Regions from separate parts of the Homo sapiens genome. Here all the other regions are linked to region 3. The links are contacts of gene promoters, found by promoter capture Hi-C in blood cells and fetal thymus (Javierre and others, 2016). All regions are on one chromosome and are shown on one strand. Each heading gives the region's core, a stretch centred on a gene start or on the middle of the fragment in contact. The rest is flanking DNA. Distances are from core to core; before and after follow the strand shown.

Region 1 (4,231 bases), core at 966-3,465, 280 kb before region 3:
GCATTGGCCTTGTCCTTCTGCAGGCCCAGAGCAAGGACAAGAAGATGAGAAGGAGTTGTGGTTGGTGGAAGATCTAGGCTGCTATTTCCATGACATTCACCTCTTGTGGGTCGATTCCTTCTAATCCCATCCTGTGGCACTTCCACCATATGTTCATTGCCCTCTTGCTCCAGGCCCCAGGAATCTCCAATAGGAGACACCACCCCAGCCTGGAGCCGTACCCTTGCCCTCTGCCCTTCCCATCTTTGGACAGGCCAGGGAGAGCAGCAGAAGGGGTATCACGCCACAGAGACCATGGCTCAAGCCCCAAAATGCTGAGTGACTCTGGGCAGGTCCACGGCTCTCTATGGGTGCTGAGGTGTCTTTCCATTGTGAGTGGTAGAAACTCAACCCCACGCAGTCTAAGCCATTAAAGAGAAGCTATTGACTGCAACATCCAGGGAGGTTGGCCTTCAGGCACAACTGGATCCAGGTCTCACCTAATATCATCAGAATTCTGTCTTTAACTCTTATTCTGTAAATGTGTTTTGTAGAGTGTTGACTTATGCTTGGGTGTTGCAGAACATGTTGGACCATGTAGGAGCCATGTCAAGACATGCTGGGTGTGCTGTACCATGTCAGGGTGTATCATTGCTCTATAGTGTTGTTGCAGCCTAGTCCGGTCCCCTTTATGCCCCCCACCCTCCTTTCTTCTTCTGCCCATGGCCTCCTTCCTGCTATGCTGGGCTTGGAGAAAAGACGTCCAAACCTCTGGCTGGGAGCCACCCTCCATACCCAAAGTCCCTCCTCTATTCCTCTCCATGGACCCTGATGGTCCTCATTCATGTCAGATGCCATTACAGACAAGGACATAGTCTTCTACAAGACCCTGAAGCCCTGGCTGGGTAAGTAACTGTAGGTGGACGGGACGGGGACCAACTTTTGTGGCCAGGGGAAGATTCTGCCCTTGCCCACAGCCTTTGGCTGCCGTACTAGGGGATGGGCTCTTGTTAAGTGTTGGTGACAAGTGGAGACACCACCGTCGCTTGCTGACGCCTGCCTTCCATTTCAACATCCTGAAGCCCTATATAAAGATTTTCAGCAAGAGTGCAAACATCATGCATGTGAGTGCCTTGAACTCAGCATCCCAGCTGCAGCCTTGGGGTGGAGGGATCACATACAATTGGGTCTGGAATGTTGGCTCTCCTGGGTGGGTTTGGGGCCATTGCTCTTCCTCTCTGTGCCTTGATTTCCCCATGAGGCTAATAATCCTCACTAAAAGGTGGTAGGAGCATGTAATGGACTCATGTCTCTGACACTTAGTAGGTGGTCAGAAGGAGTCAATTTCCACATTTTTCTCACAGAAGCCCTGTAAACTCAAGAAAGGAATGATGACACGTGCATAGTAGTCATTGCTGAGTACAGATCACTTCAAAACTAATTGGTTTAGAGCAATAAGGGTTTATATTTGCTAACAAATCTGTGGGACTGTTGGCCAGCCCTTCTGCATGTGGATAGGATCCCTCATGGTATAAGAGCAGCTGTGGGTCAGGTAGGCAGCTTTGCTTGTGCCAGCTCAGTTCTCTCACATATTTGGAGCTTTGCTGGCTTCTGGCTGATTTAGGATGGCCTCAGCTGGGACACCTGGACTTTTCTCCATGTGATTCTCTGCCTCTAGATGACACCCCAGGATTGCTCACATGGCAGAGACAGGATTCCAAGGCAGTGAGAGGAGGATACAATGCTTCTCACTAGTTATTATTATTTATTTTATTTTTGAGATGAAGTCTCGCTTTGTCTCCCAGGCTGGAGTGCAGTGGTGCGATCTTGGCTCTCTGCAACCCCCGCCTCAAGCAATTCTCCTGTCTTAGCCTCGTGGGTAGATGGAATTACAGGCGCCCACCACCATGCCCAACTAATTTTTTGTATCTTCAGTAGAGACAGGGTTTCACCATGTTGGGCAGGCTGGTCTTGAACTCCTGACGTCAAGTGATCTGCCCTCCTCGGCCTCACAAAATGCTGGAATTACAGGCATGGGCTGCTGCACCCAGTCAACTTCTCACTAGTTATGGCCTTATCATTTTCACCACATTCTATTGGCCAAAAAAAGTAAAACGTCCACCATGAATCAATGTGGGGCAAAATAGGCTCCATCTCTTAATGGAAGTTGCTAAAAAATCACATTGCAAAAGATGTGGATGCAGGGAGAAGAGAAGAAATGGAGCCAAGCGTTTTGTGAAACGACTAGGATTTTTTTTTCTCCTGTGAGCTAATAAATTAGCTTGTTACTTTTGCATGGATTCTGCCAGAAGACACGAGACTTCTGGGTCAAAGACAAAAGTTTATTACTCATGTCTCAGCAAGTGGCATGTGCATCTTGTTGGTTTGGATCCTTTCTCTAAGCCACCCAAATTCCCTGGGGTGATAAGGTGGGCTTCTATAGATGCCTGCCATGTAGTATATTTGCATGATGGGGAGGAGCATTAGGCTTAGAGAATCAGCTTTTAGAGCAAGCAGAATAAGCCTAACGTGTGTCCCAGAGGAGCCATTACCTTATACCCCAAGGCTGTTCTCTGCAAACACAATGCTGAGAAATAGCCCAGATTAAGAACCTCAGGGTTGACCGGGTGTGGTGGCTCATGCTTGTAATCCCAGCACATTGGTATCACTTGAGGTCAGGAGTTCGAGACCAGCCTGGCCAACATGGCAAAACCCTGTCTCTACTAAAAATACAAAAATTAGCAGGGCGTGGTGGTGCGTGCCTGTAACCCCAGCTACTCAGGAGGCTGAGACAGGAGAATTGCTTGAACCCAGCAGGCAGAGGTTGCAGTGAGCCAAGACTGTGCCACTGCACTCCAGCCTGGGCAACAGAACGAGACTCCATCTCAAAAACTAGCAAACAAACAAAACAAACAAACAACAACAACAACAAAACTTCAGAGTTTTGCATTCTTGGCATGCTCAGAAAAAAATGTTCAGGGGGATCACAGGGACTTTTTGTAATCAATTTATAACAATGAAGATGAATCAAGATAATATTTATTGAGAACTCATCATATGACAGAAATGATGTAATATGCCTATTCCATGGTGTATGTGGTCTCATTTAATTTACACCGCCTTGTGAAGTAGAGGATATTTTCCACCCTCTCCCCCATGCCATGACAAATGGTGAAACTGAGGGCCAGAGAGGTTAGAGAGATTTCCCAAGTTCACCCAGCTTGTCAGTGAGTCTAAGAGTGGGGGAAAAGGGGTTCTAGCCTGGCTCCCTGGCATCAAAGCAGGTCATCTTGATTGCTATTGAGGATTTGACAGGTGAGACCTAGAGGAGGGCTGTGAGTTGACCAAGGGTACACACAGCTTAGGAATCACAGCTGGGGCTTGAACCCAGCCATGGGATCTTCATCTCCTAATAGTAACAGCTTCCACTCTCACCCAAGCGTAGTCCTCCCTGAGGATGGGGGTCTGGGACAGAAAACCAGGAGCATGCCTCTGGGGGAGTCCATCCTGGTGGTTGGGGTTGCAGGGGGACTCAGAGGAGCCAAGGCCTGGCCCCAGCCCTGCTCCCTTCTCTGGCCAGGCCAAGTGGCAACGCCTGGCCATGGAGGGCAGCACCTGTCTGGATGTGTTTGAGCACATCAGCCTTATGACCCTGGACAGTCTGCAGAAATGCATCTTCAGCTTTGACAGCAATTGTCAGGAGTGAGTTCTTGCCCAGGGCCTGGGAACATGGGATGGAGTGGGGGTGTGGGTGTGGGGAGAGCAAAGCCCAGGGAGACAAGAAGAGCCTTCCTGGAGAGATGATGAGAACTAGGCATTGAAGGACAAAGAAGGAGAGAAGGAGAGAGAGAGAGAGCGAGAGAAAGAGAAGTTTCCTCCAAACAAGTGGAACTGTTTGGGTCAAGGCAAGGAGGCTAAGATGAACAGAGCATGTGCAACAGGCAGTTGGGAGACACTTGGAAATGAAGGTGGAGGGGTTGGCAGTTAACTAGATCTTAAGGATCTTGAAAAGTCAGACAAAGGGAGATGCATTTTATCCAAGGTTCCTAAGGAGCCATGGAGGTGTTTGAGCAGATGAGAGACATGGTCAGTACTGAGCTTGGACACTGGACTCTATGGGACTCTATGGAAGATTGACTGTCATGTAGACACAGCATGCAAGGATGCCAGGGAGAGGAGGTCTGAGTTTGGTGGAGAAAATGGGGCAGATTTGGGAGAAACTGAGTAATAATAGGCAGGAGCAGATGTTTTA
Region 2 (4,201 bases), core at 1,312-3,811, 260 kb before region 3:
GCATGGTGCTGCATGCCTATAATCCCAGTTGCTTGGGAGGCTGAGGCAGGAGAATCGGAGGCGGAGGTTGCTGTGAGCCAAGATAGGGCCATTGCACTCCAGCCTGGGCAACAAGAGTGAGACTCCGTCTCAAAAAAAAAAAAAAAAAAACCAAAACCAAAAAAAAGCAAAAAACCAAAAAAACATTTACTCAGTAGGCACTCTTTTTTTTTTTTTGATGATGAGTATCGCTCTGTCTCCTAGGCTGAAGTGCAGTGGCATGATCTCAGCTCACTGCAACCTCTGCCTCCTGGGTTCAAGCAATTCTCCTGCCTCAGCCTCCTGAGTAGCTGGGATTGCAGGCACACACCACCATGCCCAGCTAATTTTTTGTAATTTTAGTAGAAGCAGGGTTTCACCATGTTGGTCAGGCTGGTCTCGAACTGCTGACCTCGTGATCTGCCCGCCTCGGCCTCCCAAAGTGCTGGGATTGCAGGTGTAAGCCACTGTGCCTGGCCCAGTAGGCACTCTTTAAGAGCAGGTGTCACACAGTAGAAACTCTATGTAGACCATATGTAGACCATGAGTCACAGAGTGGGCACACTATGAAGAGCAGGTGGCAGCAGTAGGCACTCTTTATGTAGAGCAGGCAGCAGTGAGTAGGCACTCTTTATCAGGAGCAGATGATACTCAGTAAACACTCTTTATATAGAGCAGGTGGCATCTGTAGGCACTCTTTATCTAGAGCAAGTGGCATTCAATGGGCTCTCTCTCTTTTTTATTTTTTTGTGAGACAGAGTCTCACTCTGTTGCCCAGGCTGGAGTGCAGTGGTATGAACTCAGCTCACTGCAAACTCTGCCTCCCGGGTTCATGAGATTCTCCTGCCTCAGCCTCCCGAGTAGCTGGGATCATAGGTGCCCGCCACCACGCCCGGCTAATTTTTGTATTTTTAGTAGAGATGGGGTTTCACCATGTTGGCCAGGCTGGTCTTGAACTCCCGACCTCAGATGATCTGCCTGCCTTGGCCTCCCAAAGTGCTTGGATTACAGGCATGAGCTACTGTGCCTGGCCAGTAGGCACTCTTTATGTATTGCAGGTGGTACTGAGTAGGCACTTTTTATGTAGCGCAGGCAAGAGTAGGAACTCTTCATGTAGAGCAAGCAGCACTCAGTAGGCACCCTTTATGTACAGAAGGCAGCCCACAGTAGGTACACTTTATGGAGCACAGGCAACACTCGAGCAGGCAGCACTCAATAGACCCTCTTTATGTAGATCAGGAAACACTCAGTAGGAAGTCACCATATAGAGCAGGTGGTATCAGTAGGCACTGTTTATGTAGAGCACTTGGCACTCAGTAGGCATGTGTTATGTAGACAGCAACTGGTGCTCAGTGGGCACTCTTCATATACAGGGGGTGGCACTCAATAGGCACTCACTATGTAGAGCAGGTGGCACACAGTAGGCACTCTATGAGGAATATCAGGAACTGAGTATACAGGGTTAATGTAGAGCACCTGGCACACAGTAGGCACACTTTATGGAAAGCACTTGGCACAGAGTAGACAGGATTTAGCACCTGGCACACAGTAGCTGCCCTTCATTTAGAGTATTGGCACACAGTAGAAGTACTTTCCATGCAGCCTTTGTGCAGAGTAGAGACTGGCACACAGCAGCTCAAGTGCTAGTTGCCACCCTTTCCCTTCACTCCTTTTTGGGGCTCCCTCCTCTTAGGAGCCCTCATTGTCCCCCGCTAAGGCCCTCATCGAACATCCCATTTCCCAGATGGGAAGACTGCACCCAGGAGGGGCAGTACTGACCAAAGTCAGAGCAAGGATGAGGCAGAATGAGGACTCCATTCATGGTTCCCTGGCTCTGCCCTTCCCCTGCCTGGACCCCATCCGTTCCCTCTCATCCTAACCCTCCACGTCCCCGCTCTGTCCTCCTATACTGAGTCCGGCCTCCAGATTTGCTTTTCCAGCTGAGCTCTTAATCTCCAGAATCTGACCCAGGTAATCCTCAGTGGGGCTGGATTCTTTGTTCCCGTTCCTAGCAGTCAGGTCTCCAACAGGGCCCTGGACTGCCTGGAGGCAAGACTTGAACTCCATCCAGCAGCAGGGGGATAGAGGCTTGTCTCTTCCAGGTTGCCTGATTCAGCATCCAGAAGTGGTACACGGTGTCCTACCGGCCCAGGGTTAGAGAGGAGCACAGGAGATGATCTGGAACAAGGCTTGGCCTGGCCTGGCTCGCTTGACACCTGAACTCTCAAGTTCATGCTTTTATCTGCCACACACTCAGTAGGTGCTCTTTAAGAGCAGGTGTCACACAGTGGAAACTCTATCTGACCCCTCTCGGCTTACTCTCCACCTTATGTGGGAGGTGCTGAGACCTGAGGATCCAGTGCCTGTGCTGTGTCACCCTGAGCTGGTTCCTCTGCATCCAGCTGGTCTCCCACACCCAGGTTTTGGCCAGCTGCCCAGACATGGGAGCGGCACCCAGGCTGTGGGGATTGGCTGGCCCAGCCCAGCCCAGCCTAGCCTCCCACAGCCTTCCCTACATCAGGGGCCAGGGGAAAAAACCTCCCAGAAGAAGGGGAGAGGAGGTTGTGTGGGACAAGGTGCTCCTGACAGAAGGTGCCAGGGTGGGGGTGGTGGGCCTGGGGCATCCTAGCCTGTGATGGAGATGGGCACTGGGCAAGGGATTGGGCGCACACATAGGGGAGCCCCAGCCTTCCCACATTCTCCATTGCTGCCCAAGGCCCAGGCAGCTCCTGGTTGCTGGCTTGGAGGATGAGTGGTTTTCTAACTGAAACCAAGCCCCTGGCAACGTCCTAATGATTCAGGCTGGGCCTTTCTGGACTTTAATCAGTTTCTCTGTCTTTCTCAATCTAAGTGCTTACCGGGTAACTGGAGGCCACTTGGTTGCTGGTTTTGGCTGGGCCTTTCTGGACTTTACCCCTCAGCCCCTGTTTATCCATCCCTGTTTACTCTTACTGTTCTATCTCCAGCACTGCCCGTCTCTGCCTCTCTCCACTGTCCCTGGAGCTCCCTGGGCCCTTCCCTGGGCCTCAGGACCTCACTCACCACCCCATCTGCCCTGCAGGATGCCACAGCTGAGCCTGTCCTCGCTGGGCCTTTGGCCAATGGCAGCATCCCCGTGGCTGCTCCTGCTGCTGGTTGGGGCCTCCTGGCTCCTGGCCCGCATCCTGGCCTGGACCTATACCTTCTATGACAACTGCTGCCGCCTCCGGTGTTTCCCGCAACCCCCGAAACGGAATTGGTTCTTGGGTCACCTGGGCCTGGTGAGTGTGGCAGCAGGACGGGTCTGGGGTCTCAGGGTGGATGGACTTCCTGAGGGGTAAGAATGAGGCTCAGGTGAGAGGGGGTGGGCTGGGGTCTGGGGTGGCAGAGAAGCAGGGGAGGCGTCTTACTCATTCCTCTGCTTACTCATTTCTGTGAGGTGCCAACCCAAGCCCTTCTCACCTCCCTGTTCTCCCACTCTTGGCCTGTGTTGAATCCTTTTCCTGCCTGTCTTTCCACATTAATGCACCTCTGCGGGGCTCTTGGGCAGGGGGTTGGGTGCACAGAAAGGTGAACCCCTGGCGTTCCCACATTCTCCATTGCTGGACTCGAGGCCTCCTGTACCCACTGTTCAGGGTCCTCTCCCTACCTGGCCTATTTCCTCTTATGAGGGTATAGGTGGGCCAGAGGAGAGGTGTGGGCTGTCTCTCACCTCCACCACATCCGGAGGCACCTTCCTCTTATCTTGTTCCTCCCCAGTAAGATGTCCCAATGGGGTCCTGTTGCCAAACCCACATAAAAGTTGGCCACTCACTTCCCCTTTCAGAAGCCTTCCCTGACCTTTCTCCTCCCCCAGACCTTGCCCTCTGACTTAGACCTGCTCTCCCCTTTGCGGAACGTGGTCTCAATCTGCTCATTGCAAATGGCAGGATTGATGGGTGTGTCCACAGGTGAAGTGGGAGGGTGCACAGGATGCACTAGCACAGAGCCTGGTGCAGAAGCTTCTCCCAGGTGGGAGCCACTGTCATGATGGACAGTTAGAGTCACCTCTGCTCCCCTAGTGACTGCTGAGAAGGGAAGGTCCCCTGTGTGCAGAACCTTCTCCATGGGAGGAACTGGAACCTGTGTGGCTGGTGGAGGAACCAGCCAGGGCATGAAGGGATGTGGGGACCAGCCTTAGGGACATGTCCTGAGTCCACACTGC
Region 3 (4,311 bases), core at 742-3,241:
TCCATCCATCCATCCATCCATCCATGCTATCTGTGCATCCATGTGTCCATGCATCCATCTATTCTATTATCTATCTACCTACGTGCCTGTCCATCCATCCATCCATCCATCTATCCATCCTATCTGTGCATCTATCTATCTATCCTATTAGCTATCTATCTATCTATCTATCTATCTATCTATCTATCTATCTACATTCCTCCTGCTCTATCTATCTATCTATCCACATTCCTCCTGCTCTATCTCTCTTGGGTCCATCTCCAAGTCCCAAGGGTGCATCCCAGGGCAGAGGGAGAAGACGCACTGTCCACTCACAGAGGCCCAGTTATCTTGAGAGGAAGGATTTTCTTTTTCTGGGAGTCATTTCAGCCCAGAGGCAGCTATATGGGGAGGTCCTCACAGGGGAGATTTGTGGGGAGCAGTATCGCCTCAGGACATGTCCCTAAGGCTGGTCCCCACATGCCTTCATGTCCTGGCTGATCCACAGAGGCTCCAGTTCCTCCCATGGAGAAGGTTCTGCACATGGGAGACCTTCCCTTTTCAGCAGCCACTAGTGGAGCAGAGGTGACTCTAACTGTCCATCAGGACAATGGCTCCCACCTGGGAGCAGCTTCTGCAGCAGGCTCTGTGCTAGTGTGTCCTGTGCACCCTTCCACTTTATCTGTGGACACATCCATCAATCCTGCCATTTGCAAATGAGCAGACTAAGACCACATTCCCCAAAGAGGAGAGCGGTCTAAGTCAGAGGGCAAGGTCACGGGGAGGAGAAAGGCCAAGGAAAGCTTCTGAAAGGTGAAGTGAGTGGCCAACTTTTATCTGGGTTTGGCAACAGGTCTCATTGATAAGAGGGAGATAAGAAGAAGAATATAAGAGAAAGGTGCCTTCGGGTGTAGTGGAAGTGGGAGACGGCCCATGCCTCTCCTCTGGCCCAGCTGTACCCTCATAACAGGAAATAGTCCAGGCAAGGAGAGGACCCTGGACAGTGGGCATAAGAAGCCTCGAGTCCAGCAATGGAGAATGTGGGAATGCCAGGGACTCGCCTCTCTGTGCAGCCAACCCTCTGCCCAGGAGCCCCGCAGAGGTGCATTAATGTGGGAAGACAGGCAGGAAAAGGATTCAATGCAGGCCTGGAGTGGGAGGACAAGGAAGTGAGAAGGGCTTGCGTAGGCACCTCACAGAAATGAATAAGCAGAGGAATGAGTAAGATGCCTCCTCTGCTTCTCTGCCACCCCAGATCCCAGCCCACCCCTTCACCCCCACTCCCTAAGCCTCGTACCCCTCAGGAAGTCCATCCATCCTGAGACCTAGACCCATCCTGCTGCCACACTCACCATGCCCTGGTGTCCCCAAAACCAGTTCCGTCTTGGGGGTTGTGGGAAACACCGAAGGCGGCGGCAGTTGTCATAGAAGGCGTAGGTCCAGGCCAGGACATGGGCCAGGAGCCAGGAGGCCCCGACCAGCAGGAGGAGCAGCCAAGGGGATGCTGCCACTGGCCAGAGGCCCAGCCAGGACAGGCTCAGCTGGGACATCCTGCAGGGCAGACGGGATGGACGGTGAGATCCTGAGGCCCAGAGAACGGCCCAGGGACCTCCAGGGACAGTGGAGAGGCAGGGACGGGCAGTGCCGGAGGTAGAGCAGGGAGGGCTCAGGGATGGGTAAAAAGGGGCTGAGAGGTAAAGTCCAGAAAGGCCCAACCAAAACCAGCAGCCAAGTGGCCTCCAGTTCCCTAGTAAGCACTTAGAATGGGAAAGAGAGAGAGAGACTGATTAAAGTCCAGAAAGGCCCAGCCTGAATCACTGTGAGGTTGCCAGGGGCTTGGTTTCAGTTACTCGGAAACCACCCATCCTCCAGGCCAGCACCCAGGAGCTGCGTGGGCCTTGGGCAGTGCCCCTCTCCATCCCAGGCCAGGACCCCCCCCAGGCCTGCCACCCCCAGCCTGGCACCTTCTGTCAGGAGCAGTCTGTCCCAGACAACCTCCTCTCTCTGTCTGCTGGGAGGCCTTTGACCCTGGCCCTTGATATAGCAAAGGCTGTGGGAGGGCTGGCTGGGTTGGGCTGGGCCAACCAATCCCTGCAGCCTGGATGTGTCTCCTGAGCCTGGGCAGCCAATCAACACCTGGCGTCAGGCCAGCTGGGTGCAGAGGAATCAGCTCAGGGTCCAGATGGATGGGTAGATGCACAGATAGATAGAGTAGATAGGATGGATACATTAGGTAGATAGATAAAGTAGATATAGATAATGGATATATTAGACAGATGGATAGATAGCTATTAATAGATGATAGATAGATACATAGATAATAGGATAAATAGATGGAATGGATAAACGTACAGCTAAGATGGATTGATGGATGGATGGGTAGGCAAATATATATATAGATGAGAAATTAGATAGATAGGATGAATAGATTAGATAGACACACCCAGAAATAATGTTCCATCTCTGTCCCAGATATGTGGGATCCTCATTTGTGACATGGGAACTAGGGATCTTGGATCACTCCAATCACTCCAGATGCTACAAGGCCAGTGACTTACTCAGTATGATGCTGAGGAACATGACCATCAGAAACAGGATCAGAGTCACTCTCAAGCAAAAAAAAAAAAAAAAAAAAAAAAAAAAAAAAAAAAAACTCCAAGGATTAAATGATTTTTCCCATTGTCCTGGGGAGAAATTAATCCAAGGGAGGTCACAGGAGGGCAAATAATTCCCCATCACCACCACCACCACCATGAGCATACCATCACCCATGGAGTTTTCTGATTTACTCTTTGGCCCATTAAGCGTGAAATTTCTTATGCTAGGTTTCTTTCTGATAAGGGAGAAGAGATTAGTATCTCTACATTTCCTCTCCTCCTGCTACCTAGTCTCTGTATTCTAGGTTAAATTATAATTTATGTTGAGGATTTACAATGGCTGATACACCTAGCTGAGCCTTCTGCACAGAGATACATTGGGAGTGGAGGTTAATTGGGTCAAAGGAGAAATGCCATAAGCCCACACTCCAGCCTATCAGGGTGGATTAAAGGTCTGATTTGCCCAACTCTTGTCACACCTGCTCCCACTGAGAGGTGACAGCATGCTGGCAGTCCTCACAGCCCTCACTCGCTCTCGGCGCCTCCTCTGCCTGGGCTCCCACTTTGGCGGCACTTGAGGAGCCCTTCAGCCCACCGCTGCACTGTGGGAGCCCCTTTCTTTTCTCTTCTTTTCTTTTTTTTTGGATTTTTTTATTATTATTATTATACTTTAAGTTTTAGGGTACATGCGCACAATGTGCAGGTTAGTTACATATGTATACATGTGCCATGCTGGTGCGCTGCACCCACTAACTCGTCATCTAGCATTAGGTATATCTCCCAATGCTATCCCTCCCCCCTCCCCCCACCCCACAACAGTCCCCAGAGTGTGATGTTCCCCTTCCTGTGTCCATATGTTCTCATTGTGTAGGGACATGGATGAAATTGGAAATCATCATTCTCAGTAAACTATCGCAAGAACAAAAAACCAAACACCGCATATTCTCACTTATAGGTGTAGGAGCCCCTTTCTAGGCTGGCCAAGGCCAGAGCCGGCTCCCTCAGCTTGCAGGGAGGTATGGAGGGAGAGGCGCGAGTACGAACCGGGGCTGCGCGCGGCACTTGCGGGCCAGCTAGAGTTCCAGGTGGGCGTAGGCTTGGCAGGCCCCGCACTCGGAGCAGCCGGCCGGCCCTGCCAGCCCCGGGCAATGAGGGGCTTAGCACCCGGGCCAGCGGCTGCTCGGGAAGGTGTACTCGGTCCCCCAGCAGTGCCAGCCCACCGGCGCTGCGCTCGATTTCTCGCCGGGCCTTAGCTGCCTTCCCGCGGGGCAGGGCCCAGGACCTGCAGCCCGCCATGCCTGAGCCCCCGGCCTCCGTAGGTTCCTGTGCAGCCCGAGCCTCCCCGATGAGCGCCGCCCCCTGCTCCAGGGCGCCCAGTCCCATCGACCACCCAAGGGCTGAGGAGTGCGAGCGCACGGCGCGGGACTGGCAGGCAGCTCCACCTGCAGCCCCGGTGCGGGATCCACTGGGTGAAGCCAGCTGGGCTTCTGAGTCTGGTGGGGACGTGGAGAACCTTTGTGTCTAGCTCAAGGATTGTGAACGCACCAATCAGCGCCCTGTCAAAACAGACCACTTGGCTCTACCAATCAGCAGGACATAGGTAGGGCCAGATAAGAGAATAAAAGCAGGCTGCCCGAGCCAGCAGTGGCAACCCGCTCAGGCCCCCTTCCACATTGTGGAAGCTTTGTTCTTTCACTCTTTGCAATAAATCTTGCTGCTGCTCACTCTTTAGGTT

What was found. Contacts are between HindIII fragments. The CHiCAGO score rates a contact against its expected background, and 5 or more counts as called.
Region 1: a fragment that was not itself captured here is called in contact with the fragment with the promoter of CYP4F2 in region 3 in 1 of 17 cell types (M0 macrophages); the score reaches 5.8 in M0 macrophages.
Region 2: the fragment with the promoter of CYP4F3 here is called in contact with the fragment with the promoter of CYP4F2 in region 3 in 4 of 17 cell types (total CD4 T cells, total CD8 T cells, naive CD8 T cells and 1 more); the score reaches 6.8 in total CD4 T cells.

What each region holds. Positions count from the first base shown.
Region 1 is chr19:15,618,660-15,622,890 of GRCh38, forward strand. CYP4F8 (cytochrome P450 family 4 subfamily F member 8) reads left to right here. Exons shown (of 13, transcript NM_007253.4): 4 at 831-884; 5 at 976-1,103; 6 at 3,560-3,681. Among named protein-coding and RNA genes, the nearest start is that of CYP4F8, 5.6 kb to the left of the region's middle. The HindIII fragment of the contact is 5,324 bases long and covers 1-4,231 here.
Region 2 is chr19:15,638,336-15,642,536 of GRCh38, forward strand. CYP4F3 (cytochrome P450 family 4 subfamily F member 3) reads left to right here and starts at 2,562. Exons shown (of 13, transcript NM_000896.3): 1 at 2,562-2,610; 2 at 3,080-3,278. The coding sequence starts at 3,081. The HindIII fragment of the contact is 7,096 bases long and covers 1-3,996 here.
Region 3 is chr19:15,896,083-15,900,393 of GRCh38, forward strand. It overlaps CYP4F2 (cytochrome P450 family 4 subfamily F member 2), which reads right to left and starts at 1,992. Exons shown (of 13, transcript NM_001082.5): 1 at 1,944-1,992; 2 at 1,332-1,530. The coding sequence starts at 1,529. The HindIII fragment of the contact is 3,476 bases long and covers 781-4,256 here.